Regions from separate parts of the Homo sapiens genome. Here all the other regions are linked to region 1. Evidence: promoter capture Hi-C in 16 types of primary human blood cells and fetal thymus (Javierre and others, 2016). All regions are on one chromosome and are shown on one strand. The core of a region is centred on a gene start or on the middle of the fragment in contact, and the rest is flanking DNA. Distances in the headings are between cores, read along the strand shown.

Region 1 (6,745 bases), core at 3,878-6,377:
TATCTCTCTGTTATGGGCTGAATAATGTCACCCACCCTGAAATTCCTATGTTGAAGTCCTAACCCCCAGTACCTCAGAATGTAACTGGATTTTGAGATAGGGTTTTTAAAGAGGTATATAAGTTAAAATGAGGACAGTGGGATGGGCCCTAATCTAATATGACTGATGTCCTTATAAGACGAAATGATTTGGACGTGGACACAGAGGGACAACCACATGAGGACAGGGAGAAGATGGCCATCTGCAAGCCAAGGAGAGAAGCCCTCAAGTAAACCAATGCTGCCAACACATTGCTGTTGAACTTCCAGTCTCTAGAACGATAAAAAATATTTCTGTTGTTTAAGCCACCCAGTCTGAGATATTTTGTTTTGGCAGCCCTAACAAACACATTCTCTAAGGGTTTATTCTCATTTTTGGTTTAGTGTATTTCAGCTGATGATTATAGCCTAATCCTCCCCCTCTTCTTGGGGCCTCTCTTCTCTGTACTCTTCCTCCTCATATCTCACACAGGCAGATTTGTTCCTGCCTCCTCACCTACATTACGAGCTCCGCACAGTCTCCTTTCTTCTGGCTCCGGCTCCCTCATTAATCTTTCTGTTATTAACGCTATTAACTCGTTAAACTATCTCTCCACCTTTCCAAACTTCCATTAACTCTGGCACTCCATAAGTGTTAGTCAAATAAATGAAGAATCACACTAACTCCTCTTTCCTTCCCTCTCACTCCAAACTCTTGGTGAGATTCTTTTGCACTTATGCCCTCGTTTCCCCATTTCCCACTCACTTGTCAGTCTCCTCATTCTTGGTTTTCCTCATTATATTGAAACACATCTGAAAAAGTCATGTAAGACCACAGCCACTGCGTATCAGTGCTATTTGAGAGTTAATAAAGTTCCCTTTTCCTCCAAGACAGCGAGCAGAGTGAACAGAAGAAAGACTGGTTTCTGCCCTTGGCTGCACAGCCATGCCCCGAGGCCGGGCTTAGGATTTTATAATTCACAAAGTCAACTGTCTCTTCCCCTCTCCATCCTTTAGGAACTGTCTGCAGTATCTGACACTGTTGAGAGCTCTCATACCCTTTAAACTCTCTCTTCTCTGGCTTTCTGAGCTTTCCTCCCACTTTTGATGGCACTGCAGGAGTTTTTAAGCATCTCTCTCTCATACCAACCCCAGAAATAAAGTCATTCCTCGAATTCCTGTACTTAGCCCCTTGTCTCCTAACTCTTTGACCACTAATGTTTTAGAAACACTCTCCTGACAACTATCGCATCTTTGCAGTTGTTTCCATTTCCAACGCCATGTCTCTCTGAGCAGCAGCCTTGAGTTTTCAATTGCATATTTATTAGTCATTTCCATATGGACATCTCACTAAATCTGTCATACTAAACATGTCTAAAATATGTATGTTTACATGTTACATGTATGTTTGGTATGTGGGAATGCATTACATTCCCACAGATTTTTTCCCAGTTACAGTGTTACTATTCTAATCACTCAGACTAGAACACTCAGAGCTATCTATGAGTCTTCCTCTCACTCAAACTGCATATATAATCTATAAACAGGTCCTGTTGACCTCATCTTCTAAAAATCTCTTACATGCTCCTTTTTATATCATTGGATAATAGTTTAGTGTGGTGGTTAATATCATGCACACTGGAGCCAAATCTGTTAGGTTCAAATCCTGACTCTCCTTCTATTTACTAATTATGAAACCTTAGGAAAATTATTCAACTTTTCATCTGTAAATATGGGGATTATAATGGTGATCCACTTTATATGACTGACAACCAAATAAGTGAATACGTGTATAGCAGGTATTAACCATATGCTTAGCCGACCTATTTCAACCTCCTAACCAACCAGAAGAACTGTAGTTCCCTGCTCTCTTGCATCTAAGTGGGGCCATGGAATGTGGGCAGAAGTGTTGTGTCACCTTTACTCAGAGGCAATTAAAAAGAAGACATACTTTTCCTATGTTCTCATTGCCAATGAACACACTACACAGATCTCAACCTCAGAATTCTCTCCACACTGGTATTTCCAAAATAGCTTCATGAGAAGGGAAATTTGTGTAGTTTCAATGATTTAGTGATGCTATGGTTTGGGTATTTGTCTCCTCTAAACCTCATGTTGAAATGTGACCCCAATTTTGGAGGTGGGGCCTAATGGGAGATGTTTCGGTCATGGAGGTGGATCCCTCACAAATAGATTGATGCTATTCCCTGCAAGGAGGAGAGGATGAGTGAGTTCTCACTGCATTAGTTCCTATGAGAGCTGGTTGCTAAAAAGTTTGGCATCTCTCCCCTCTCTCTCGCCATACGATCTCTCTGCACACACCACCCGCCTTTGCCTTCCATTGAGTGGAAGCAGCCTGAGGCCCTCACCAGACGCATATGCTGGTGCCATGCTTCTTGTACAGTCTGAAGACTGTGAGCCTAATAAACCTCTTTTCATTATAAGCTACCTAGTCTTGTGTATTCTGCCATAGCAACACAAATGAACTAAGACAAGTGACAAACACAAAATAACTTGTCTTTTAGACAATATTGATGTCTGAAATTCCACATTGAGGCATTTTTTTCCTCTTCGTAGCCTGATAATGGCAAATACCTTCTGACACCTTAGGATGGATGAATTTGTAAGAGATATTCCTGGAAGCAGGTTTGTACAGTGTAGAGAAAATGTTGGGTAACAAAGCAGGAATGGAGGAGGGTTAATCAGCAAGCCAAAAAGCTTTTATAGTTTTGCCTGCTGTGCTGCATGGAATTACATCCCCCCAAAACATATGTTCAAGTCCTAACCACAGGTACCTGTGAACATGAGTTTATTTGGAACTAGGATCTTTGCAAATGTTATCAAGTTAAGATGAGGTAATACTGGATTGGGGTGGGCTCTAAATCCAATGACTGGTGTCTTCATAAAAGAAAGGTGAGGGAGAGTTGAATATAGCGACACAAAGGAAACACGGGGAAGGAGACCATGTGACAATGTAGGCACAGAATGGAGTGTTGCAGCCAAGCCAAGAATGGCAAGGATTGCTGGAGCTACCAGAAGCTAGGAGGAGGCAAAGGATTCTTCCCTAGAGCCTTCAGAGGGATCATGGCCTTAATGGCACCTTGAGTTCAGAATTTTAGGCTCCAGGACTGTGACAGAATAAATTCCCGTTGTAAGCTGTTCAGTCGGTGGTAAATTTTTACAGCAGCCCCAGGAAAATATGCCTGCTCAACACCCTACCCTGAATTTTAAGTTCATTTTATGGAATCATTTTGAGTTTGGAGTTTGATTTAATCCTTTTCAGTAATTAACGCTCTTCATTTTTTACTCCCAAATATGTCACACTGGCTCTACTCTTATAACAATTGTATTTATCTATCTTTTGGTAATGGGGCTGCCACCCCTTGCAGAATGAAAAGTAGAGTGTGTATGCTCACACCTCCCTCCCTCCCTCCCTCTCTCCCTCCCTCTCTCTTTCTTTCTTTCTCAGAGTATCGCTCTGTCTCGCCCAGGCTGGAGTGCAGTGGCGCAATCTTGGCTCACTGCAACCTCTGCCTCCAGGGTTCAAGCGATTCTCCTGCCTCAGCCTCTGGAGTAGCTGGGATTACAGGCGCCCGCCACCACGCCCGGCTAATTTTTTTGTATTGTTAGTAGAGATGGGGTTTCACCATATTGGTCAGGCTGGTCTCAAACTCCTGACCTCAGGGGATCCACCCGCCTTGGCCTCCCAAAGTGCTGGGATTACAGGTGTGAGCCACCGCACCCGGCTCACAGAATTTCTTAAAAAGTCATTGTGTTCAGTCTTTATGGATCCTCTAAATTCCAGCTGCTCAGCCTCCCGGAGCTAAATGAGATCACTTAAAGGTCGACTGTTGGGGCCTCCAAGGTCGCCTCGGAGACTCACCTCATAGGCAATCAAATGGATCGCTGGGTTTTTGTGTGTGTGGGTTTTTTTTGTTTATTTTTTTTTTCCAGAAAAACACTCCACCAAGAAGGTTTTTATAACCTACTGGAGGAGGAGGATGGAGAGTGGGCACGAAAGGACTAGGATGAACATGCCATAAGCAATCTAAATGCCACTGCAATATTGCCTGGTGAGGACCTGATTACTGATGTTTTAAAGCTAAGCTTTCAGTTGTCACTCCACCCAGTAGTGAAACAATGAGCTCTAAAATATATATTTCGGCTCAAGCTTTCTTATGTGGGGAGGTAATCCACCCGAAGGTATCCCCAGCCTGTACCTAATACAGTGCCCAGCACTAAAGCAGCTCAGATGCCAGTGAATGGTGGCCACTGGGAGGCCTGTCAGTGGGTGCCAGTAGCGGTCTCTTCAGAGAAAAAGAAAACTCCCCTCTGCCAGATCAGTATTTTATGAGCTGTGAACCAAAACCATTGCTACCACCATCACTATAATTCTATCCACAGTAATTATCATAAAGGCCTAACAATGCCTTGTAGATGAACATTCTGAGTAACTGCTCTATAACCAGGAGATTTAAGACCGCACCAAAAACCAGTAGAGGGTTATACTTTACTGGGCACAAGTCGTTTATGATAACGAAATTGTAGTTTAATCTGTGAAGAGATGTGAATGTAACTGAGACACGCTTAAATGGAATATACAGATGAGCTTTATTTTTATATCTGGCATGCTTGGATCCATGCCGACCCTCCAGCTGCTCGGGCCTGCCCTTAGGGGCTATGGACCGCATGACTCTATCAGCGGCACTGCCACCGCCGCCGCCTCCGTGCTGCCTGCGTTCCCCGACCATTGATTGGGCCCGGCAGGCGCTTCCTGGGGGCTTCCCTACCGGCTCCAGCCCTTGGGATTCGGGAGCGCCCTGCTAGGAAGCCAGAGCCCCGCAGGGGCCGCGGCGTCCAGGCCGCCTAACGCGCGCCCCTCGCCCGGCGCCCCGAAGCGGCCCCGAGGGGCGGGAGCCGAGGCGAGCGGCAAGGCCGGGCCGGGGGCGCACAGCGCCCCTAGAAGTGCGGGCTTCCCCCACCCCCGGCAGCGACCCTACCTCCCGCCCCCGCTGCGTGCGCGCGTGTGTCCGTCTGTCTGTATGCTCTCTCGACGTCAGTGGGAATTTCCAGCCAGGAAGTGAGAGAGTGAGCGAGACAGAAAGAGAGAGAAGTGCACCAGCGAGCCGGGGCAGGAAGAGGAGGTTTCGCCACCGGAGCGGCCCGGCGACGCGCTGACAGCTTCCCCTGCCCTTCCCGTCGGTCGGGCCGCCAGCCGCCGCAGCCCTCGGCCTGCACGCAGCCACCGGCCCCGCTCCCGGAGCCCAGCGCCGCCGAGGCCGCAGCCGCCCGGCCAGTAAGGCGGCGCCGCCGCCCGGCCACCGCGCGCCCTGCGCTTCCCTCCGCCCGCGCTGCGGCCATGGCGCGGCGCTGACTGGCCTGGCCCGGCCCCGCCGCGCTCCCGCTCGCCCCGACCCGCACTCGGGCCCGCCCGGGCTCCGGCCTGCCGCCGCCTCTTCCTTCTCCAGCCGGCAGGCCCGCGCCGCTTAGGAGGGAGAGCCCACCCGCGCCAGGAGGCCGAACGCGGACTCGCCACCCGGGTAAGCCAAACTCGGGCGAGTGGGGGCCCGGCAGGGGACGCGTGGCCCAAGTCCTGCCGCCCAGCCCTCCGCACCCCCTCCAGCCCCACTCGGACTTCCTCATTCCTGCGCTAACCGCTGGGCTAGACCGTGGGAGGAGGTTGACAGTAGCTGAGAGGCACATGGGATTAGCGACAGCGGGGAAAGACACATCCGGACCTCGCAGGGGCTAGTCGGCCGAAGGGCCGCGGCCGCCCGGCGGTCATTTCTCTTCACGTCCCTCCGCGGGGCGGGAACGCGAACCGGAGGGGAACTCTTACAAACTTTTAAAATCCCCAACCCCAGCCCCACCTGGGGGATGGTGAGAAGGTTGGAGTGCGCTGCGGCGCGGAGGAGAGAGGGAAGGTGGTTGGTGCAGTGCAGAACCAGATTTCACCTAAGGGCGTTCCATGAAATGAAAGCAGAAGTGCTTGTCAGTCCTCTTGGCTGGGAAAGCCCTCCCCAGCTCCCCAGAATTGAATAGGAGAGTCTATTCATCCCTCTCCTACTTCTAAAAGAAACCTGGCTCGCTCTCTGTCTCTCTCTCTCTCCCCCCTCCCCCCCTCCGTGCGCGCGCGCGCGCGCACACACACACACACACACACACACACACACACACACGATATAGTCACCTGCTATAGGACTTGATTCTGATCCTCCGGGGCCTGGCATTTGAGAGAGAAAATAAATTACCTACCTGGATACTTAGAGCACTTTTTAGACTTGATTATGTAAAACTCTTGGACAGTGCCACCATGCATTATGCATGACCGCTGAAACAAAAATAATGTAAAAACAAGGCCTATCCTAAATGCAAGTTTTTCTATGGTCCTTAAAAACAGACACCAGGGAATGTTTGCCCTGACTTGCTGGTTTATCCTGAAACTCAAATGGGACTTAATGATACAGGATTTAATTATCAAGATTGACATGTTCATGGACTTTGTTAAGTAGAGGTTTTCAGCATTACAGTTTATGAAATAACCATATTTAACTCAAAGATTTTTTTATAAAGCTCATAATCTGAAAAAATGCTTATGGTATTACTAAAACATTTAATAGCTCTGGCATCAAAATATTCTACATACTGGTGATCTTTTAGTAAATAGTAAAGGTTAGGGTCAAGATATTCAATAATTTTTTTCTAGCAGAATCCCACAACTGAATATT
Region 2 (7,018 bases), core at 1,178-3,677, 560 kb after region 1:
TTTCTCAGGAGAATCTGTTACAGTAAATTCTTAGTTGTATCATCTGGAATTATCTTTATTCTCATTCTTAAAGGATAGTTTTTCTAGGTATACCTCAGTTTTATGTTAAATTCTAGGTTGAGTGTTATTGTTTCTCCATTCCTTGAAAATACTATTCCTTGGTTTTCTGGTTTTGAAGAGCCTGATTTCAGCTTTTTAAAGGAATTCTTTTTCCTTGTTTTCAACATCTTCTCTTTTTCTTTGGTTTTCCTTTCAGTATGATGTGTTTAGGTGTGACTTCCTTTTGTTTTGCTTAAGATTTATGTTTTTTAAAAAAAATCAGTTCTGGAAAATTCTTAGCCTTTATTTCTTCAAAGATTTCCTCTTCCCCATTCTCTTTTTCCATGTTGCTAACCCTAGTTTTCGTATCTTTCATCTTTGTGTGTACTGCATTCTAGATAATCTCTTCACATTTATTTGCCAGTTCACCATTTTTTTCACTTAATCTGCTGCCTAATTTGTCCAGTGAGTTTTTAATTTCAATTACTATCCTATATCTTTCATTTCTAGAAGTTCAAGTTGGTTCTTCTTCAAATCTATTCATTTTTAAAAGTTACTTGTTTTGTACTCATGTTTTCTAATTCTTAACTTCTTTATATATATAAATGTCTTATATTCTGTTTTCTGATAATGTACATTTTTGAAATCTGTTTTTTTGTTTCCTTTTGCATGTTTTTTTTGTTTGTTTTTTTTTTTTTTTTAGTTTTTTTGCAATAGTGAGCTCTCCCTTGGAACTTTGTCTAGTTTGTTTTTTGCAATAGTGAGCTCTCCCTTGGAACTTTGTCTAAAACTAAACTTTTTAGTTTGTCTTTTGCAACAGTGAGCTCTCCCTTGGAACTTTGTCTAACTTTGTTGAAGCCTTAGGTTGAATGAGTTTTCCCAGATGGGAATGAATTTACTTCTACCATGTACTTAAAAGCTTCCCATCCAAGACCATCTGAAAATGTTTTTTGAAAATAGATACATTTTCAAATTGAATTTTTTCTGTGAAATTGGAGACAAATCAGGATGAAGTTAAACATTTTTATTGGCGACTCCACACCTGCCCCAGCCAGCAACTACAGTTGAGACAGGTTTAGTCAGAGGCCCCATCTGCAGAACAGATTTACCTCAAATTTGGCATCACACTGGGTTTCAACTTTATATGGGTGAAGGAGAATGCTTTTTCCTGTTAGACTTCTCCCAACCTGGGCAGGCTCTAGCTTAGCCTCCTGTGCTCACAGCGCTCTCAAAATCAATCTCAAATTCCCTGAGGTGGATCTAGAACTAGAAATACCATTTGACCCAGCCATCCCATTACTGGTATATACCCAAAAGATTATAAAACATGCTGCTATAAAGACACATGCACACGTACGTTTATTGAGGCACTATTCACAATAGCAAAGACTTGGAACCAAGCCAAATGTCCAACAATGATAGACTGGATTAAGAAAATGTGGCACATACACACCATGGAATACTATGCAGTCATAAAAAATGATGAGTTCATGTCCTTTGTAGGGACGTGGATGAAGCTGGAAACCATCATTCTCAGCAAACTATTGCAAGGACAAAAAACCAAACACCGCATATTCTCACTCATAGGTGGGAATTGAACAATGAGAACACATGGACACAGGAAGGGGAATATCACACACCGGGGCCTGTTGTGGGGTGGGGGTAGGAGGGAGGGATAGCAATAGGAGATATACCTAATGTTAAATGACGAGTTAATGGGTGCTGCACACCAACATGGCACATGTATACATATGTATCAAACCTGGACGTCGTGCACATGTACCCTAAAACTTAAAGTATAATAATAATTAAAAAAAAAGTTCCCTGAGGTTTGGTAGAAACCTCCAGGGTGGGGCCACCTTGAGTGCTTACTGACCTCTGCTACTTACACTTTGGTTTTGGTGTCTGATGATTCCCTGTTTTCTTGACAGATCATTTCAAAAGACTTAAAACATTTTTTCAGATGATGTCCTTGGTTTGTGACAAGATTGTTCATTGAGTCTCATCTACCATACTGCTAGAGACTGAATTCAATGTCCCTTTTTCTAAACCCTCACAGAATTGTTCCAGATTTTCTAGGCTTATGATACTACTGCAGTGGAATACCTAAGGGACTTCCAGTATTTTCCAATTAGCTACAAGGGTTGAAATTTCTATGCGATATCAGAGGTAGAATGGGAAAGCAGGATTTGCCAGCTATTATACTAAATTATACTTTATCATAGCATAAACCCAAGCTAATATTAAATTCAGCAAGGTAGAATTAAGTGTTTTCTCTTTTCGGCTGGGCGCAGTGGCTCACGCCTGTAATCCCAGCGCTTTGGGAGACGCCGAGGCAGGCGGATCATGAGGTCAGAAGTTCGAGACCAGCCTGACCAACATGGTGAAACCCCGTCTCTACTAAATACAAAAATTAGCCGGGCATGGTGGCACGTGCCTGTAATCCCAGCTATTCAGGAGGCTGAGGAAGGAGAATTGCTTGAACCCAGGAGGTGGAGCTTGCAGTGAGCCGAGATCGAGCCATTGCACTCCAGCCTGGGCAACAGAGTGAGACTCCATCTCAAAAAAAAAAAAAGAGAGATTTTTCTACTTCAAGACTATTAAAAAAATCTCTCTTTCCCTGTGCTTTACTTGAAACACAGTTGTAAATACATAGCAAATGGTATGTCTATAAGGTTTCTCTAAATCATGTTTAAATCAGTTAACAATTTACTTCTCATTTACGATTATGGAAAACCACAAATTTTCACATGTAAGATTTACTTTTTTTATTTTTATTTTTTGAGACAGTTTCACTCTTGTCACCCAGGCTGCAGTGCAATGGCACGATCTCAACCTCCGCCTCCCAGGTTCAAGTGATTCTCCTGTCTCAGCCTCCTAAGTAGCTGCAATTACAGGCACCCACCACCATGCATGGCTAATTTTTTGTATTTTTAGTGGAGATGAGGTTTCACTATGTTAGCCAGGCTGGTCTTGAACTCCTGACCTCGTCATCCACCTGCCTTGGCCTCCTAAAGTGCTGGGATTACAGGTTTGAGCCACTGTGCCCAGCCTACTTTTTAAGAAGAATACTGATATATACTGCATAGGCACAGGAAAAAATATAGGACAAAAGTCGTCTTGTAAACCTCTGGAACAGAAGAACAGAAAAATAAGCGATGAGATGTTTATCTACCATGAACCTCATTTTTCAGGCTGCTTTATGAACGATTATACATTTTTAAAAAATGTGTCCCAAAATTACATTATTCATTTTTACTCTTTCCTTATGTCAGTCCATATCTGTTTCATTGTAAACGTTTTAACTATAAGTAGGCCATATTTTGAATAATAAAAGTTTAAAAAAATAATGAAAAGAACAGAAAAGGTATTCAATTATCTGTGATCTTATCAGCTAGTGTATATTTTTGGATTCTGGTTTTCTGTACATGTTCTAAGTTTGAGATTTTCTTCCATGCTTAGTTAAGTAAACTGACTTGGTTTCATTAAAAACACATCTAGAGCCTAAAGTATAGTATATTATGCTTATCTTTCATTGTCCCAGATGATAATGGTAAACATGTCTTTCAGAGCCCACAAAGTATAACTATGGAATTGAGTCTCATTTTTCAGTAAACATATGTGGGCATCCATATATTTACTTCAATGATGCTATTATTCTTGAACACAATTTTTGAAATTGCCTTTAAATTTTCTTTAAAAGGCAAATTTAGTAAGACATAAAATTATGAAACTATTAGAAAAAAAACATAAATAAAAAGCTCCATGACACTGGTCTGAGCAATAACTTTTTGGATATGACTCCAAAAATATAGGCAACAAAAGCAAGAACAGACAAACCAGATTACACCAAACTAAAAAGCTTTTGCACAGTAAACAATCCACGGAGTGAAGAGACAACCTACAGAATGGGAGAGAGCAGTTGCAAACTATGTACCTGGCAAGGAGTTAATGTCCAGAATATAAAAGGAACTCAAAAAACTCAATAGCAGGAAAACAAATAATCCAATTTAAAATGGGCAAAGACCTGAATTTTTCAAAAGAAGACATACAAATGGCCAAACAGGTATAGGAAAAAATGTTCAACATTTCACCTCATGCCTGTCAGGATGGCTATTATCAAAAAGACAAAAGATAACAAGGGGTTGGCAAGGATGTAGAGAAAAGGTAACTCTGTGCACTATTGGTGGGAATGTAAATTAATACCACTATTATGGAAAATGGTATGGAGAGTCCTCAAAAAAGTAAAAATGGTACTACCATATGATCCTGCAATCCCATTACTGGGTATGTATCCAAAGGAAATGAAATCGGTATGTTGAAGAGATTTCTGCACTCCCATGTTTATTGCAGTACTATTCACAATAGCCAAGATATGGAATCAACCCTAAGTGTCCAACAATGAATGACTGGATGAAGAAAATATGTGTATATACACAATGATATGCTTTTCAGCCATAAAAAAGAATGAAATCCTGTCATTTGCAACAACATGGATGAACCTGGAGGACATTATGCTAAGTGAAGTAAGCCAGGCACAGAGAGACAAATACTGCATGTTCTCACTCATATGTAGAATCTAAAACAGTTGTTCATATGGAAATAGTAAATAGAATGGTGATTACCAGGGACTGGGGAGGGGAGGAGCTTGGGGTTATGGGGAGAGAGTGGTCAACAGGTACAAAGTGATAATTAGATAGGAAGAGTAGTTTGTTCTGTACCACAGCAACGTGACTATAGTCAGGAATAAGGTATTGTATACCTCAAAACAGAAGATTTTCTATGTTCTCACCATGAAGAAACGATAAATGCTTCATGTGTTAGATATGCTAATTAGCTAGATTTGATCATTATATAATATATACATGTATTGAAACATCATATTGTACCCCACAAATATGTACAAATATGTGTCAAAAATAAAAATAAATAAATAATGCTGATGAATGGATGTTTATGTTTTTGAACAATTCTTTTTATATTTTGATGTTAAAATTATCTTTATCTTTTGAAAATATGATTTATAAAAGTGAAAAATTGTGGATAGATTCCAGGCATTTAAAAGTTGGCCGGTTAAAACTAGTTTTGCCAGATGCAGTGGTATACATCTGTAACAAGCTACTTGGGAAGCTGAGGTGGGAGGATCCCTTGAGCTTAGGAGTTCAAGACAAACCTGGGCAACATAACAAGATCCTGTCTCCAGGAAAAAAAAGGTTGGGTGGGGGAGGTGAAAGTGGCAGGAAGACCATGACCAATGCCTTGACATGTAATTTTCTCTAGACTTTAAATCTGAAGATCCATGAAAAAAAAAATGTACACACACGCACACACACACACACACACACACACACATATAACTCAAGTATATTGGGTGATATATATTGGGTTGTTGGTCACAGGATACAAAATTTCAGTTAGACAGGAGGAATAAGTTTAAGAGGTCTATTGAACAACATGAAGACTGTAGTTAATAAATATATTGTATTCTTGAAAAATACTAACAGTGAATGTATTGTGTTCTCACCACAAAAAATGACAGCTATGTGAGGTAATACATATGTTAATTAGCTAAAATTAGTCATTCCAGTATGTATACATACTTCAAAACATCATGTTGCACATGGTAAATACATACAATTTTATCTATCAATGTAAAAAATAAAATAAATTTTAAGTCTCAATAAAAGAATACTGTCTTCTTAAAAAAACCTAATTTGCCTTTATAGATAATTTTCAAATCTCTTCTTTTTTCTGCTTTATCACATATTCCCCCAGCATACACAGCACAGACACACATATGCACACAATTCATTTCTGAAGAAAAATAGGGCATAAATCAATCTGAACTTCCATATATTTATCAAATTGATGGCAGAATAACCTTTGGCTTCCTTCAAAGACCAAATCCATTCCTGAAAGACAAACATATACAAGCCTAAAAATTTTCAAAATAGTGCTGAGATAAACTCCCAAAGAAAAATCCCCCAAATGTCTTATGTAACAGCAACTCTACTAAAATAAGCTGAATTGCAAACCAATATTCTTACTTATAAAGTAATAGGATTCATCTGGAAGTATAAATGGGGCTGTGTTTGCTAAAATATTACTTGCATTACTTAACAGTAATAACAACAAACGTTTATGTAGTGTTTTACAGTCCTAACGTAATCCTGTGAAATTACTCAGATATAGTAAAGGAAAAGGTCCTTGATCTGTGTTCCTTCCCCCTTCCCACAATGGTGGTGACCACAGTGATCCTGAAAGCCAAGGTGAAGACAGTGGAGCCCTGTTAGTCTAGGTCCTTCCCTTGAATGTGTGGAGCAGAGCCACCCATGTGTGTGAATTGTTCACCAACTAGTTTTTATGTTTGGGAGAAGTGAACTTCTTTTTGTCCTTTCAACCATATTATTTAGTAATCTGCCATTATAACAACTTCATCTTTTGCCATCTCTTTCTGAATTCATCCTTACCATTTGTTATGACCCTGTCCAGTAAACCATGTGGAGGGCAAGCCAGCATTTGTCTCAGTCTTTGTACGTGATTTGCTTCAGTTGGTGTTTCTTGTAGCTTTTTTTCACTGCTTTTCAAAAGAATACTTCCTTCTGTTGGTTCATTTGCATCTATACCTTTGAGCTTCATAACTGTCTCCTCCTGTGTTTAAAGTAATTTTAAAAATCCTTAAAACTGTATATATTTTACACATATTTATAGGTACTGCATCATCACCTTACAAATCAAATTTCTATGACTAGCATCAAGGATAACACTTTGTAGAAAAAACTCACAGCTTTATTACTAGCTAATCAGCTTGAAACAAGAATGATACTAGGAGTATTTAGCACAGTCACTATTTTTAGTACAGGTTGAGTATCACTAATCTGGAAATCTAAAATCTGAAATGCTCCAAAATCTGAAACTTTTTGAGCACTGACATGACACACAAGTGAAAAATTCCACACCTAAAGTCACATGACAGGTA
Region 3 (7,305 bases), core at 2,661-5,160, 610 kb after region 1:
AGTTGCATAACAGGGTACCTCTGGTAGGGTAGGCAGACACACTGTCACAAAGGGCTGTGCACAGTAGATGCTATGTGGTGAGAAAGACTACAAGAAATGCCGTGTTACCGTTTCTCCTGCAAGTCCCCCCACTTCTGTGGACAACCTCCATGCAGAGCTGGGGGTGATCCTTGATACCTCCCCACTCCTTTGTTCAATCAGGTGCCTGGTGTTGCTGATTTTACTCCAAAATCTCTCCCGTCGGTCTACTTCTCTCCTTCTCTACTCCAAGTCCACACTACCATCATGTCTTGTTTAGACAACAGTCTAACTCCTGCTCCTATTATTTGCTGGTCACCTTAGAGACGAGGTGATGTTTTCAAAATGTATAACTCATGTTCTCCTGCCATTGCTTAAGATCTTTCAAAGGCTTCCTCTACACAATAAATGAAACAATTCCTTTATATAATTTATAAAAGTCCAGCATTTCTGGCTCTTATTTCTCTCTTTGGCCTCACTGACTTCACCCACACAAGCTTGTACTCACTGTGCTCTGACCACACCATATTTCTTTCAACTCTTCCCCTGGTCATGTTCCCACCTACCCTAACGCTGTTGCTGTTCCATCTGCCTGAGATGTTTTTCCCTCTGCTCTTTATTAAGATAACTCATGTTAACCTTTTAGATCTGATCTGTTTCCTTCCTCAATACTCCTCAAATACTTATTATATTTCTCATAGTCTTTTGTACTTGCACTGCTATAATTTCACTTTTTTTTTTTTTTAATCACTTGATTACTGTCTGTATCTTCCATGAGAATTAAGCTCTATGAAGGCAGGGATCATGTCTGGTTTTGCTTATCAATGTGCCACCAGGATCTAATCCTTAACACATAGTAGGGGCTCAAAACAATTTTATTGACTGAATAAATGAATAAGTAAATGATTCATCTATTATCTGGCTTGGGTAAAGTAAATATAATGCTATTGGATATTTTGGTCCATTGAATTGATAAGACTTTTCAGTAAAAGTTGCTTTTTAGGGTAGTATCTTCATGTCCTTGAGAAAGTTGCTTGTCTCTCTTTGGACGAAACTAAAGGCTTAAAGGGTAGACTAAAGACTTCACTTGGGGTAAAAGTGAATTGCACTTCACTGTGTGGGGTGCCTTGGAGAAATCAACTTTCTTACAGAGTCAGCAAATGAAGCCTGTCATTGTAGCTTACTCAACTAAATCATCTCTTATCTAAACTTGCCCTTTGGGATCACATATTAATGATAAGTTCCAACTGTTACCCTCTGATTTCCAAGTAACCAGTATATTTACTTACCTGGACAAAGGCCTAAACTTGAGTTATCAAAATAGCGAACTGGATGAGGTGATGGTAAAGACTTTGATCGGCTATCAAAAAAACAAGATTTTGGTGATTCCTTTGGCACAGGATCTTGTAAATTCCGTTCCTTGCATTGAGAGGGTGTAATTTGTTTCTTTTTAGAAGCTGTTCCAGTCACTTTAGGAGACTTTGGAGAATTCTCACAAGTTACTTGTTTGTGAGCCTCTCTTTTAAGGGTTCTTTCCTTCCAAGTTTTGACCTCATTGGAAAGATGCTGATTATTGCTTAAATGTGGGGGAAGAAAAGAGAGACTGTAAGACTTCTTGATTCTTAAGATGTATTCACATTTATATTTAAAAATTAAAAATAAATTGTGATGAAATATATATAACATAAAATGTACATTTTATCACATTTACATTTTAATTTCAACCTCATGCTTCCTGTTTTGACTATTTTCAAAGTTCAGAAAACAAAATGGATCTATATAAATTGAATAATATAGTAAGTTTCCATGATCATGGAGTCTTGAAAAGAAAGCTCTAAGTACAACATTAGGTTTTCAAATGAATCAATGATATAATCCAGAGTGGCTTATCTATTGATGCTTTGCCACAATAATTTGACAAATTAGTCTCCTGGATAGATGAATCTTTGATGTACCTTTCTTACTGTAAAATAAATATTACACTGTGCTTTTCTAGTTACAATGCTGCTTCTTACAGGAGATGCCACCAGCATTTATCCAGTTCCTCCGGAGAGAAACCTGGGAAGCAATCCTAGAGACCTCACTCTCTTTTATTTTAAGTCATCCAAGTCTCTTGATACACTCTCATCCTATCTATCAAATTCACTTCCTTGTTTTTATCCCTATTGGGGCCAAGCTAGTCCATGCTAAAATTACTTTTTGTCTGAACTACCATAAACACATTCTAAAATTTGATCCCTCTATAATGCTCTAGCAGCCAAAGATGCTATATGATCTCATCAGGCCACTAGCTTAAAACCCTCCAGTGCAGGTAATCCTGCCATTACATTTAGGATACCACTCCATATTCTTCAAAATGAACTATAAGGGCCCATGTAATCTGAATCTAGTTACCTCTGGCACCTTGTCTTGCACTTTACTCTGTCTCATTCTCTACATTCTGGCCACACTGGATGTCTTTCAGTCCCACCAATTAGTTATTCTTCTTAACTCAAAGCCCGTGAACATGTTCCCCTGGCCTGGAAAACTTATCCTTCTTCCCTCATCTAGCCTAATTCCTACTCATTTTTCATATCTATTCTGATATAGGCATACCTTGGAGATATTGCAGGTTTGTTTCCAGATCACTGAAATAAAGTGAATCGCGGAAATCTTTTGGGTTCCCAGTGTGTATAGTAGAAAGATAAGTGCAATAAAACGAGGTATGCCTGTTTGTTGGCTTCCTGATCAACCAACCCTCCACCCCTAACACCTAGATAACGTTGGATCTCTCTCTTTCATAATATAACCCTTTTATAATGTCCTTTTTGTTTTTGTTTCTTTTTTAATAGCACTCATGGCAGAGTTAGTTATTTGTAAAATTATTTAACGCTTTTTTTTCTACTGTATCATAGTAGAGTGCTTGGGGAAAAGATTCTACTCTTCCACGTGGTAGAAGCCGAATAATTTGTTAGATCTGTTTATAAAGTAAAAAGCCTACAATAATGGACGTAAGGAGTTCCTCTCTAAGTAAAGCCTCACTGGCTTGGGTATATGGACTTGTGGTGTATTTCAGCTGCCCCCTCAAAGGTCTTTGTTTCTTTCCTATTTCTTGCCTTGGTTAAGAATTGGTCAGTTGATAGACAGCAAACATTGGAATAGTGCTACCATATTCTCATTTTTTAAAAAAGATACTTATTACCTGAGCTCTAAAAATTACTTTCCCCATAATGACTGAAGTGTTACCACCTGCAAAAAATACGTGCATATACCATGTCCCTACATATATGTAATAGCCGTAAGCATAATATCCGTATCATGTAAGCAGATCTTACCTTAACAATTCATTCTTTTGTTTTATTAGCTGTTCATTTTGCTGCTTTAACTTAGAAATTTCTTTTTCTAGCCTTATATGTTCACTTTTCAAAATAAGAGCTTTTGTGTTTTGTACAATGCCGCTGCCACCTCCACAAGTTAAGGGTTTATTTGAAGGCTGAGGATCAGTATGTTCTGATATCACTGTGGGAGGAAAATATACAAATAGGTGATAATTTTAATTGTCTCCAAAGTTCAAAATAAAGGAAATACTACCAAGTACAATAAGCCATTATAGAGACCCAAACAGCTCAAGTCTTATTTCCCTGGAAGTCACCCTTGACTTCTGCCTTCTACCTTACTCCCTCTGCTTATTTGACCAACCATTAATTCTATGCCTCTAGAATCCCCCTCAACCAATTCCACTAACATATCCTGATCCTGATCACCAAGCTCTTTCACCCTGACTGCAGCAATAGCAATCCTCTCCACTTACTGCTGTCCTTTATTGATCTATATTTTCTACATCAGTTTTCCCCTGAAGGGCTTGTTACAACACACTGCGTGTGTGGCGGGGAGGTGAGGTAGGGTGGGAGGGCCACCCCGTCATTCAGTGCATTATATGTATTCAATACATATTATTAACTAAATATATGTTACAATAATATTAAAGCACATATTAAATATTCTACACTATGTGTGTAAAGAGACTGTGTTTTGTAAATTGTAGGCAAAGTTGCACAAAATGTGAGATAGTTATGAAGTGGATTAATCCATTAGGTCACTGGGAATTCACAAAAGAGGGATAGTGTGTGTGTTGGGGGTGATTCTTGATGTCTATTTTATTTTGAATTCATCTACACTATGTACCTGAAAGTCATCTACAAATCAAGAATAAATATCCTCAACCTTCTGAAACAAAGAATCCTCACTTCTATTTTTACCCCTTTAAGTTTTCTCGGTAGGTGCTGTGGTTATCCTGTAACAGACACTAGGGAAGTTTAAGCTACAACAGGTACTAGGTAACACCTTAACACCTTTAGCACCATCTATTTTTGGAAACAAGTGGACTATAATACAAGCAAATATCATCTTATGTTTTGCTTAGTATTTGGAATTTTCAATGTGTTTTTACCCACAACTTTCGGTTTGATCTTTATGTACGTGTGTGTGCGTGTGCATGTATATAAATAAGTGTATATGTATATACACTTTTTTAAAAAAGACACTTATTACATGAGCTCTAAAAATTACTTTCCCCATGACTGAAGTGTTACTACCTGCAAAAAATATGTGCATATACCATGTCCATATATATGTGTGAGCATAACTATATATATGTGTGCACATGCATATATATGTGTATACACTTATATGTATCCTGTAACATATAATATACAGAATTCTATATATTCTGTAAATATATAAGTATTATATATAATATATATTGCATATTGAAAATTCCAAATACTAAGCAAAACATAAGATATTTGCTTGTACTATATACTTATAAGTGTATATATATATACACTTATATATAAGTATATATATGTAAGTATATACACATATATACATGTGCACGCACAAATATACACTTACATATATATGTATATACTTATATACTTATACATACATATACTTATATATACATATCTATACATATATACTTATATATACTAAGTATACTTATGTATACATGTATATATACACATATACATATACATATATACACTTATAAGTATATATGTGTATGTATGTATATATACTTATAAATGTATACATACTTATAAGTATATATAAGTCTGTATATATACTTGTAAGTATATATAAGTGGATATATACTTATAAGTATATATAAGTCTGCATATATACTTGTAAGTATATATAAGTGTATATATATACTTATAAGTATATAAGTGTATATATATACTTATAAGTATATAAGTGTATATATATACTTATAAGTATATAAGTGTATATATATACTTATAAGTATATAAGTGTATATATATACTTATAAGTATATAAGTGTATATATATACTTATAAGTATATAAGTGTACATATATACTTATAAGTATATAAGTGTACATATATACTTATAAGTATATAAGTGTACATATATACTTATAAGTATATAAGTGTATATATATACTTATAAGTATATAAGTGTATATATATACTTATAAGTATATAAGTGTATATATATACTTATAAGTATATAAGTGTATATATATACTTATAAGTATATAAGTGTATATATATACTTATAAGTATATAAGTGTATATATAAGTGTATATATATACTTATAAGTATATGTGTATATATACTTATAAGTATATAAGTGTATATATACTTATAAGTATATAAGTGTATATATACTTATAAGTATATAAGTGTATATATATACTTTTAAGTATATGTGTATATATACTTATAAGTATATATAAGTGTATACATATATATGTATATATTAGAAAATCCTTCACAGCAGTTCTGTTTATTCTCCTGTAAAAAAGTATGTATGAGTATATAAGTACATATACTCGTATATATACTTCTATAGACTTATAAGTATAATACTTCTAATTATATAAGTATTTACTATATATACTTATATATTACTTATATATATTACTTACATATTACTTATATATAATATATAACTTATATATTACTTATATATGTTATACTTATATATATTATAATATATATTATATATAATATATAACTTATATATAATATATAATATATAAGTAATATATATTTTATATTACTTATATATTACTCATGTAAGTAATAAAGAAGTAATAGATATATTACTTATATATTATACACTTATACTATATATACTTATATATTTATTATGTATACTTATATATGTATAATAAGTGTATATATACTTATAAGTGTATATATACTTATAATAAGTATATATATAAGCATACATATATGCTTATAAGTTAGAAGGTCAGGTGCTAACCCCACGATTTCATATAGCCATTGAGATCTGCATCTTAGTTCAGTACTTGTTCTACTGCGTAAAGCTATCTCAAGTACTGTTCAAGCATTCTTTCTTTTCAAATGGAACATGACAGACAGAATATGAATAAAGGTAGTTTGAGGAATGCATGTATATTGAGAAATTTGACCAACAGATCTAAAAAGTATCTCAGATAAATTTCAAAGACCTTTGCAAGTAAATATTAACTTGGTATTTTTAGTTTCAAGAACAAACAGAATAGTATTTATTTTTACTGTACACCAATTATAACTTATTAGATGCATACAATTAAAATCTACGAAGACATGTGTTTCGTTTTATTGGGAAGCATAATTCCATGTTGATATAGTATAAGTCATTCCTTTATTGCCTGAAGGTATCTTCACTAATAGGTAAAGATTTGACAATACAAAAGCAGAGTTCGTATTTTTCAAGAATCTATAATGGATAAGCATCTAAGATTACAACAAACGATGTCACAAGATATCTGGAAATATGGTTCCAATAAATTCATTTAAAAATAGATTAGTGGCCAACTTCTGTTTACTCTCGACTGTCACATACTACATAATATTAGTCTTCAAAGTCTGTTGTGTGTTGAGAAGTAAAATTTCATCTGAAAATATCTGCATTTTCTACTTACCTGAGGTATCTTGGGCCTGTTGACTTCTTCTGAGATTTTCTCTCAATAGCCTTATAACTTCCTTTTGATATTCTACAGTGGCTTTTGTAGCACTGATTCTAACAAAAACAATAAAAATATGTAAAAAGCTCAGCAACTGATTTTTTACAGGAGAATAAACAGAACTGCTGTGAAGGATTTTCTAACACATCACATTGACATAATGCCTGTAAGTGGCAGTAGATAAGCCCTCGTGATACCTCTCTGGTGCCATGTGCCTTATGGCATTAATGCCATCAAACTAGAAGCATTCTGCTTGGGTGCAGGGACAGTCCGATTTTCTTATATTGAGAAACCCCAGTTCTTT
Region 4 (6,566 bases), core at 2,134-4,633, 530 kb after region 1:
GAAATGTTTTATTTGGAATGCATCTGTTGGAAAACATTATGAAAATTCTCAGTTTCTTTTAGAGGCAAAATGCAATATTATCAGTGCAGATGGGAAAAATGTATTAATTAATCTGGTTATCCCTTATTCCACAGAGAACAATGTAAGCCTCTAAGACAATGAAAAAGAAAAATGTGCATCAGAAACAATGGCAGAAACTACTAGTTGCTCACAAAAACATGAATGACCCCTTTCCCTTCTATAATAGAACTCCTGGAGTTTGGCTGGTCACATTGCTGTCCAGAGACCTTTTTATAGAACTCTTAGCCATTATGTTTTAGACATTTTTGAAAGTCTGATAGGGGTGAGGGGAATTCTGGAGTAATGCCCAAATGCAAAGAGCATAATTGAAATCTGGAATATAACTGCTGAGCATACACATCCCCCAAAGCCTCCTAAATGAAAAACACTTGATTTTAATTCCTTAATAACAGAAATTGGAATATTTAATTATAAAATAATCTGGGGCAAAACAGTTAAATGTTGTTTGATGTAATTAGTCTGAAAATATACAACCAAAGATACATCACATTTGCAACAAATCATAATCTATACAGTTCTAACTTAATTAGCAATCATAGATATTCTAACAAATGCATGGTCAACAAATTCAAGCACCTATCTATAATAGCTTTATTTATCACGTTTATTAGAATGCACAAATTTTCGGTTAAGTGATTGAGACATTTGCCAGGAAGTTCAGTGAGTTTTGAATAATTAATACCAACTAATAATCTAGGAAATCAATAAAGTGCTTTCTGAGTTGTTTTTCAATAAATCTTTTCTCCATTACATACAAAGACTCTGGTCAAGCTCAACTGATCATCAATCATATTAACATTAAAATATCTCCAAACATTAAGGGAACCATGTTATTTCTATTTTACTCTCTTCTTGGAAGCTATTAACATGAAAAGAGTTAAGAACTCTTTCCTTGGGTGACTTACAGAGTGCCGACTGATGAAAACTCTTCTCTCCTGTTACTACTGCTTTCTAGTAGAATAGGGATTTACTGGATTTTTACTTATACCCTGGTGATCTAAGGAAATTTAATGAGCTATCACATTTAAGGAATGAATATACCAAAAATACAGGTTTTAAAGAATAGATTAGGATAAACTCTTTTCATAAATCCACTTCAATTATTTATTTTCACTAAATTTAAACAAGCCCTCTTATTCAATATTTCAAGGTGTCATGCAGAAATAGCAGTTAAAATGCTAAGCCATCCTATCCATCATACCTGAACTGTGGCCTTTGGAAGCCATGCAAAAGAAATAAATATCTTTTCTTTTAAGTTAAAACCAGCAAAACACACCATCAGAAATGTAGTCAAAATTCGTATCAATACTGCAATGCCTACGGTGGCAACACAAAGGCCTGTAAGAAATATTCAATTTTTAGAAATAATAAAATACTAGGAGAGAAACTGCATCTCATGGTTACTAATTCAAAATAACCATCAACAGAAATAATTTTTAAAGCATTAAAAATTACAAATACAAAAATGTTTAGGAAGAATATATAAAAACAATCAATATTAAGGATCAATCAGGCTATTTGTTTAAAATAAGGTGTTTCTGTAGATTAAAACCAGAAATTAAGCATATTTGAATTCTTATGTAGAGATTTGAATGTTATATATGTCTTATGCTTTATAGCAAGAACCATGCTTGTTCATGTGTGTAAGAAGAATTTATTAAATGATATGATTAAATGATAAGTAATAAGCTTTAAACTAAGTACTGTGTACACATAAATGTACAATGTATAGACTTTGCCTCAAAGTCAGAGAAAGACACATAAACAACCAATTCATAGACTATACAGTAAGTGAGGTATAAACAAACTAAGGGCATAAAAGAGGGAAAAACAATATTTTAACCCAAAAAGTCAATAATTCTTTACAGGGTATAAGACCAGAAGTGATAGCTAAAATATTTATGAGCCAGTATGGAGGGAATTAGCCAATCAGAGCTGGCTGGGCACTGACCAATCAGAATAGACACTGGCAGTCTACCACTGTTTCACCATACTGATGTGTACTGGTCGTACTGGTCCCAATTATCCCTGGTTAACATACACAGCTACTCCATTTAGTCCTGTAGAATTCTTTGCTGATAAAGACAAGTTCATCATCATTTGCCAAACAAGGGATTGTGAGTAGTGCTGCTACATGCTACTGGACCTAAGAATGATACAGCTAAGGTGACTCCTGAGTATTAGGGTGATTTTTTAAAAAGTAACATTTGTTGAGTGTTTACTCTGTGCCAAATGCTGTACTAAGCTTTAAATGTATTATTTTACTTAGTCCTTACAACCCGTGGAGTAAGTATTATTTTATAGTTGAAAAAACCAGAAGCTCAGAAAGGATAAGTAGTTTTCTCAAATTCAAAGGGCGGGTAAAACATCAGACAGACATAGCGGGAGGATCTATTGTAAATCTGCCATATGGCTTTTTTATGGGAAAGTTTTGTGGTTCTTTGTTGAAAGGTATTTCTTCAAGGTTGGAAAGTATTCAAAAATATCTGTAGCCTGAAGTACAAGATAAAGAGTTGATATCATTCCCAGAAGGAAACATTGAAAGTTTGAGAAGAGGATGAGAAGGAAGTTTTAGTTGAGTTTGAACGTTAACAGGACATACAAGTGGTGCTGTCCAATCAACAATTGGATATATTGATTTAGAGATAAATAGTTTGGAATTATACAGTTTATAGTTGATGTCACTAGTATAGATAAGGTTAGAGAAGTTATATAGAGCCAGAGGCACAAAGTTAGAAAGCAATTTGATAAAGGGCAGCATTTAAGCTACATATGGTGTAAGGAAAGGCTCAAACAGCACTGGGAAATAGGAAGTTTAAGAACTTAATATAAAGGAGTGTTAGAGGGTCAAAAGCAGCAAATGCTGCTGACAGATCAAGTAAAGCAAAGACTGGATTTAGCAATATTACCTTGGTGAGAGGCTGGCAGGTTGTGTGAGAGGTTGGCAGGTTGTGTGATAGGCAGAAGCTGGGCTAAAATGTATAGAAGGAGGAAATGGGAACTGAAGTGGAAAGGGGAATGTAGTGACCTCTTTTGAAAAGTCCGAAAAGAAGACAAGAGAGGTAGCATGGTAGAGACGGGGGGAAGTGAAATAGAGGAATTTTATATATATATAATTTTAACATATTATTTTAATATACATTATTTTAATTGTAGTAAAATACACATAACATTTACCATCTTAACCATTTTTATGTGTATAGTTAGTATCATTAAGTATATTCACACTATTATGCAACCAATCTCCAGAATTTTTTCATCTCACAGAATTTAAACTCTATACCCATTAAACAACAATTTCCCTTTACTCCCAGCCCCTGGCAAGTACCATTTATGAGTCTGACTACTCTGGATACCTCATGTAAGTGGAATCATACAGGGTTAGTCTTTTTCTGACTGGCTTATTTCGCTTAGCATAATGTTCTCAAGGTTCATCCATGTTGCAGCATGTGTCAGAAGAGAAGCATTTTTTTTTAAGATAAGAGAGATTGGAGACTAAATTCTGAAGAGAAGAAAATTGCGACATGGATATTTAAGATGTATGAGAAAAGGAAAGAATCCATATGCAAGATTCAGAAGGAGTAGCGGGAGATGGGATTCCTAGTATGGATGGAAGAATACTGTGATGGAAGGAAAGAAGGAAATAATGAGTACATATATACAAATTAATTTTTAAGTGCAGTGTTTTGAATCAACAGAGTTTTAATATGATGGCTTTTGAATGTAGGAATAAATAAAATAATTAATGAACAACAAGGCATTTCTATCCCATGGGTACAAACTATAGAACTAACTAGTTGTCTTTAAAATTCTCGCTCTTGTTCAGGACAAGGCTAGATGAATATTCTTACCCTTGGAAAAAGAATTGTTAAGGCCTGAATTTTCTGGGTAGTGGTCAGCAGTGTCACTTTCATATACAAGGAACAATATTAAATGTGTAAAATATACCATCTTAGATGAACAAGCATTATTTTCTAACCAACTACTCTAAAAAACTTACATCATAATTAACTTTTTATATAATTGTGACAATAGTAACCACTGTACACATACCTGCTGGAGATATTTCAATGAATATAAAAAGTAGACTTTATTGGTGAGTAGGCTGACCAAAAAAAGTGAATTTTAACAAAAGCACATTTTGAAATTCTTACCTACAGTTTCTGGTCTGAGAGATGCAATAGATACCTCTGCTCCAATTAGTCCAAAAAGAAGGGGCTGAAAAATGTCCCAGGCAACTGCAATTATCTTTTCAACCTCTGCCTAAAATAACAATAAAACACACACAGATTTTTATTATGTGAAGTTACAAATGCAAAGAATTTTATTAATTTGAGGTTTGAATTATTTGGCCTGAGATAAGCTTTATTTCTGTGCCATCTATAACTAAAAGGTTAGCTAGAACAGAGCAAAAAAACTGCATGAAGATCTTTCTATCACAGTTAAGATACATGAGGTGTTTTAGCATACTAAATATTAGTTTGCACATGGATATTAATAAAAAGATTCTTATAAAGTAATCTTATGAGGACTCCTACTTCTGAATACATCGTGTGTATGTGCATGTGTGTATACATATTGTAATATATAGTAGTGTTTTGTAGTTTAAAATTTTATGTCGACTTTCCTTCAACAATATGATTTAGAGAGCTTGCAATATTGGTACATATATCTAGATATGCCCCTATTACTGCTGCATAGTGATCTACAGTATAGAAGTACCATAGTTTATTCAATCATTTCTTTATTGACAGATCTTTAAATTGTTTCCAATTTTATCTGTACAAAAAATACTGTTTAAGGTTATCTCAAATCACGCACAAAAATAAAATCCAGGTTTACTAAAGTGATTATCAGTGCCAATTATCACTTTATTGCCCATTATCTCCAGCTCCTCTTTCACTGTTGCTCCACAGAAAATGGAGCTGGGCCTTTAAAATATTTTTCCTTTGCCAGGTAGCACCATGTTAAACTTTGTCAGTAGAGTGTGCTAAAGAGATATTGCAAGCTGAAGGTGCTTTTCTTCCTGGTTTCTGTGGCTCTTCCTAGCAAGATCTTATAGCATGCACTGGTGGCCTTAGCTCTAGGTTCCTGCATCCCAGGTGGCTTCTCCAGTATCAGGGTCCTACAATTCATGCAACCAGCAGCACCTAGTGGCCATTACATTCCCTAGCATACCCCTGGGGCAGTTTCGTAGCAGATTCTCTTGAGCAAGATACTTCCCCATGCACCCAAGGGGATGGATCTCCTGCAAATTGGGAGGGTAGATTTTCAGCAAATTCTGCAAGCACAGCACCACAGCGACTTCTCTAGGCTCTAACAGAGTCTGGATCTCAGCCCTGCAGGCAGGAATGTGGAGGGTACAGGCTTAAGGGGATGATCTATTATAGCCATAGGTGCTATTCTCATATTCTTTAAGGATGTCTTCACATCTTACTAGCCAATACCTTGTTACTGGAATCCCTGGTGTGGTTAATAATCAACTTTTCCTATTCCAGTTACTATTTGATTTCTCTTTCCTCATAGGACCCTAATTGATACAAGAACTAACTTTGTAACACATAATGCAAAAGACTCTAGGAAAACAGTGACACAATTGACTAGAGTAACATCAAAATGTTTTGTGGCAAAAGAAGCCATAAACCAAAAAAGTGACAAACTAGAAGAAAATATCTGTACCATGTGTAACAGAATAAGAAACATTGGCCAATCAATAAAAAAAAGACATAGATCCTAACAGAAAAATGGGCAATGAACCCAGAGACAGCATCATCATACTGAATAGGCAAAAGCTGGAAGCATTCCTTTTGAGAACCAGAATAAGACAAGGATGCCCACTTTCACCACTCCTATTTAACCGGAGTACTGGAAGTCCTAGCAAGAGCAATCAGGCAAGAGAAAGAAAGAAAAGGCATCCAATTAGGAAGAGAGGAAGTCAAACTATTTCTCTTCGCAGATTATACTATACCTGGAAATACTATACCAAGAATAGTACAGAGATACTATACCTAGAAAACTTCATAGTCTCTGCTCAGAGGCTTCTAGATCTTATAAACAACTTCAGCAAAGTTTTAGGATAAAAAATCAATGCACAAAAATCATTATTTCTATACACAAATAACGTACAAGCTGAGAGCCAAATCAAGAACGTGATCTCATTCACAATCGCCAAAAGAAGAACAAAATATCTAGGAATACAGCTAACCAGGGAGGTAAAAAATCTCTACAATGAGAATTACAAAACACTGCTGAAAGAAATCAGAGATGACCCAAATGGAAAAACATACCATGCTCATGGATAGGAAGAATCAATATTGTTAAAATGGCCATATTGTCCAAGGCTATTTATAGATTCAATGATATTCCTATCAAACTACCAATGACATTTTTCACAGAATTAGAAAAAACATTATAAAATTCATTTGGAGCCAAAAAAGAGCCCGAATAGCCAAAAGCAATCCTAAGCAAAAGGAGCAAATCCAGGG

Evidence for each region. The method cuts DNA at HindIII sites, captures the fragments that hold promoters and counts their contacts. A CHiCAGO score of 5 or more calls a contact.
Region 2: a fragment that was not itself captured here is called in contact with the fragment with the promoter of NFKB1 in region 1 in 8 of 17 cell types (total B cells, erythroblasts, naive B cells and 5 more); the score reaches 10.6 in total B cells.
Region 3: a contact is called between a fragment that was not itself captured here and the fragment with the promoter of NFKB1 in region 1, in 1 of 17 cell types (neutrophils). The highest score is 5.4, in neutrophils.
Region 4: a fragment that was not itself captured here is called in contact with the fragment with the promoter of NFKB1 in region 1 in 13 of 17 cell types (total B cells, erythroblasts, naive B cells and 10 more); the score reaches 11.5 in total B cells.

The regions. Positions count from the first base shown.
Region 1 is chr4:102,496,232-102,502,976 of GRCh38, forward strand. It overlaps NFKB1 (nuclear factor kappa B subunit 1), which reads left to right and starts at 5,128. Exons shown (of 24, transcript NM_003998.4): 1 at 5,128-5,557. It overlaps NFKB1-AS1 (NFKB1 antisense RNA 1), which reads right to left and starts at 6,255. Exons shown (of 5, transcript NR_136202.1): 1 at 6,208-6,255. RefSeq lists silencers at 4,808-5,067, 5,078-5,647 and an enhancer at 5,758-5,807. The HindIII fragment of the contact is 5,238 bases long and covers 4,187-6,745 here.
Region 2 is chr4:103,059,818-103,066,835 of GRCh38, forward strand. SLC9B2 (solute carrier family 9 member B2) reads right to left here. Exons shown (of 12, transcript NM_178833.7): 3 at 6,510-6,690. Among named protein-coding and RNA genes, the nearest start is that of SLC9B2, 13 kb to the right of the region's middle. The HindIII fragment of the contact is 2,943 bases long and covers 957-3,899 here.
Region 3 is chr4:103,107,496-103,114,800 of GRCh38, forward strand. It overlaps CENPE (centromere protein E), which reads right to left. Exons shown (of 49, transcript NM_001813.3): 46 at 6,960-7,057; 47 at 3,333-3,516; 48 at 1,308-1,594. Among named protein-coding and RNA genes, the nearest start is that of BDH2, 11 kb to the left of the region's middle. The HindIII fragment of the contact is 6,795 bases long and covers 514-7,305 here.
Region 4 is chr4:103,027,465-103,034,030 of GRCh38, forward strand. SLC9B2 (solute carrier family 9 member B2) reads right to left here. Exons shown (of 12, transcript NM_178833.7): 10 at 4,236-4,344; 11 at 1,283-1,419. Among named protein-coding and RNA genes, the nearest start is that of SLC9B1, 11 kb to the left of the region's middle. The HindIII fragment of the contact is 2,118 bases long and covers 2,325-4,442 here.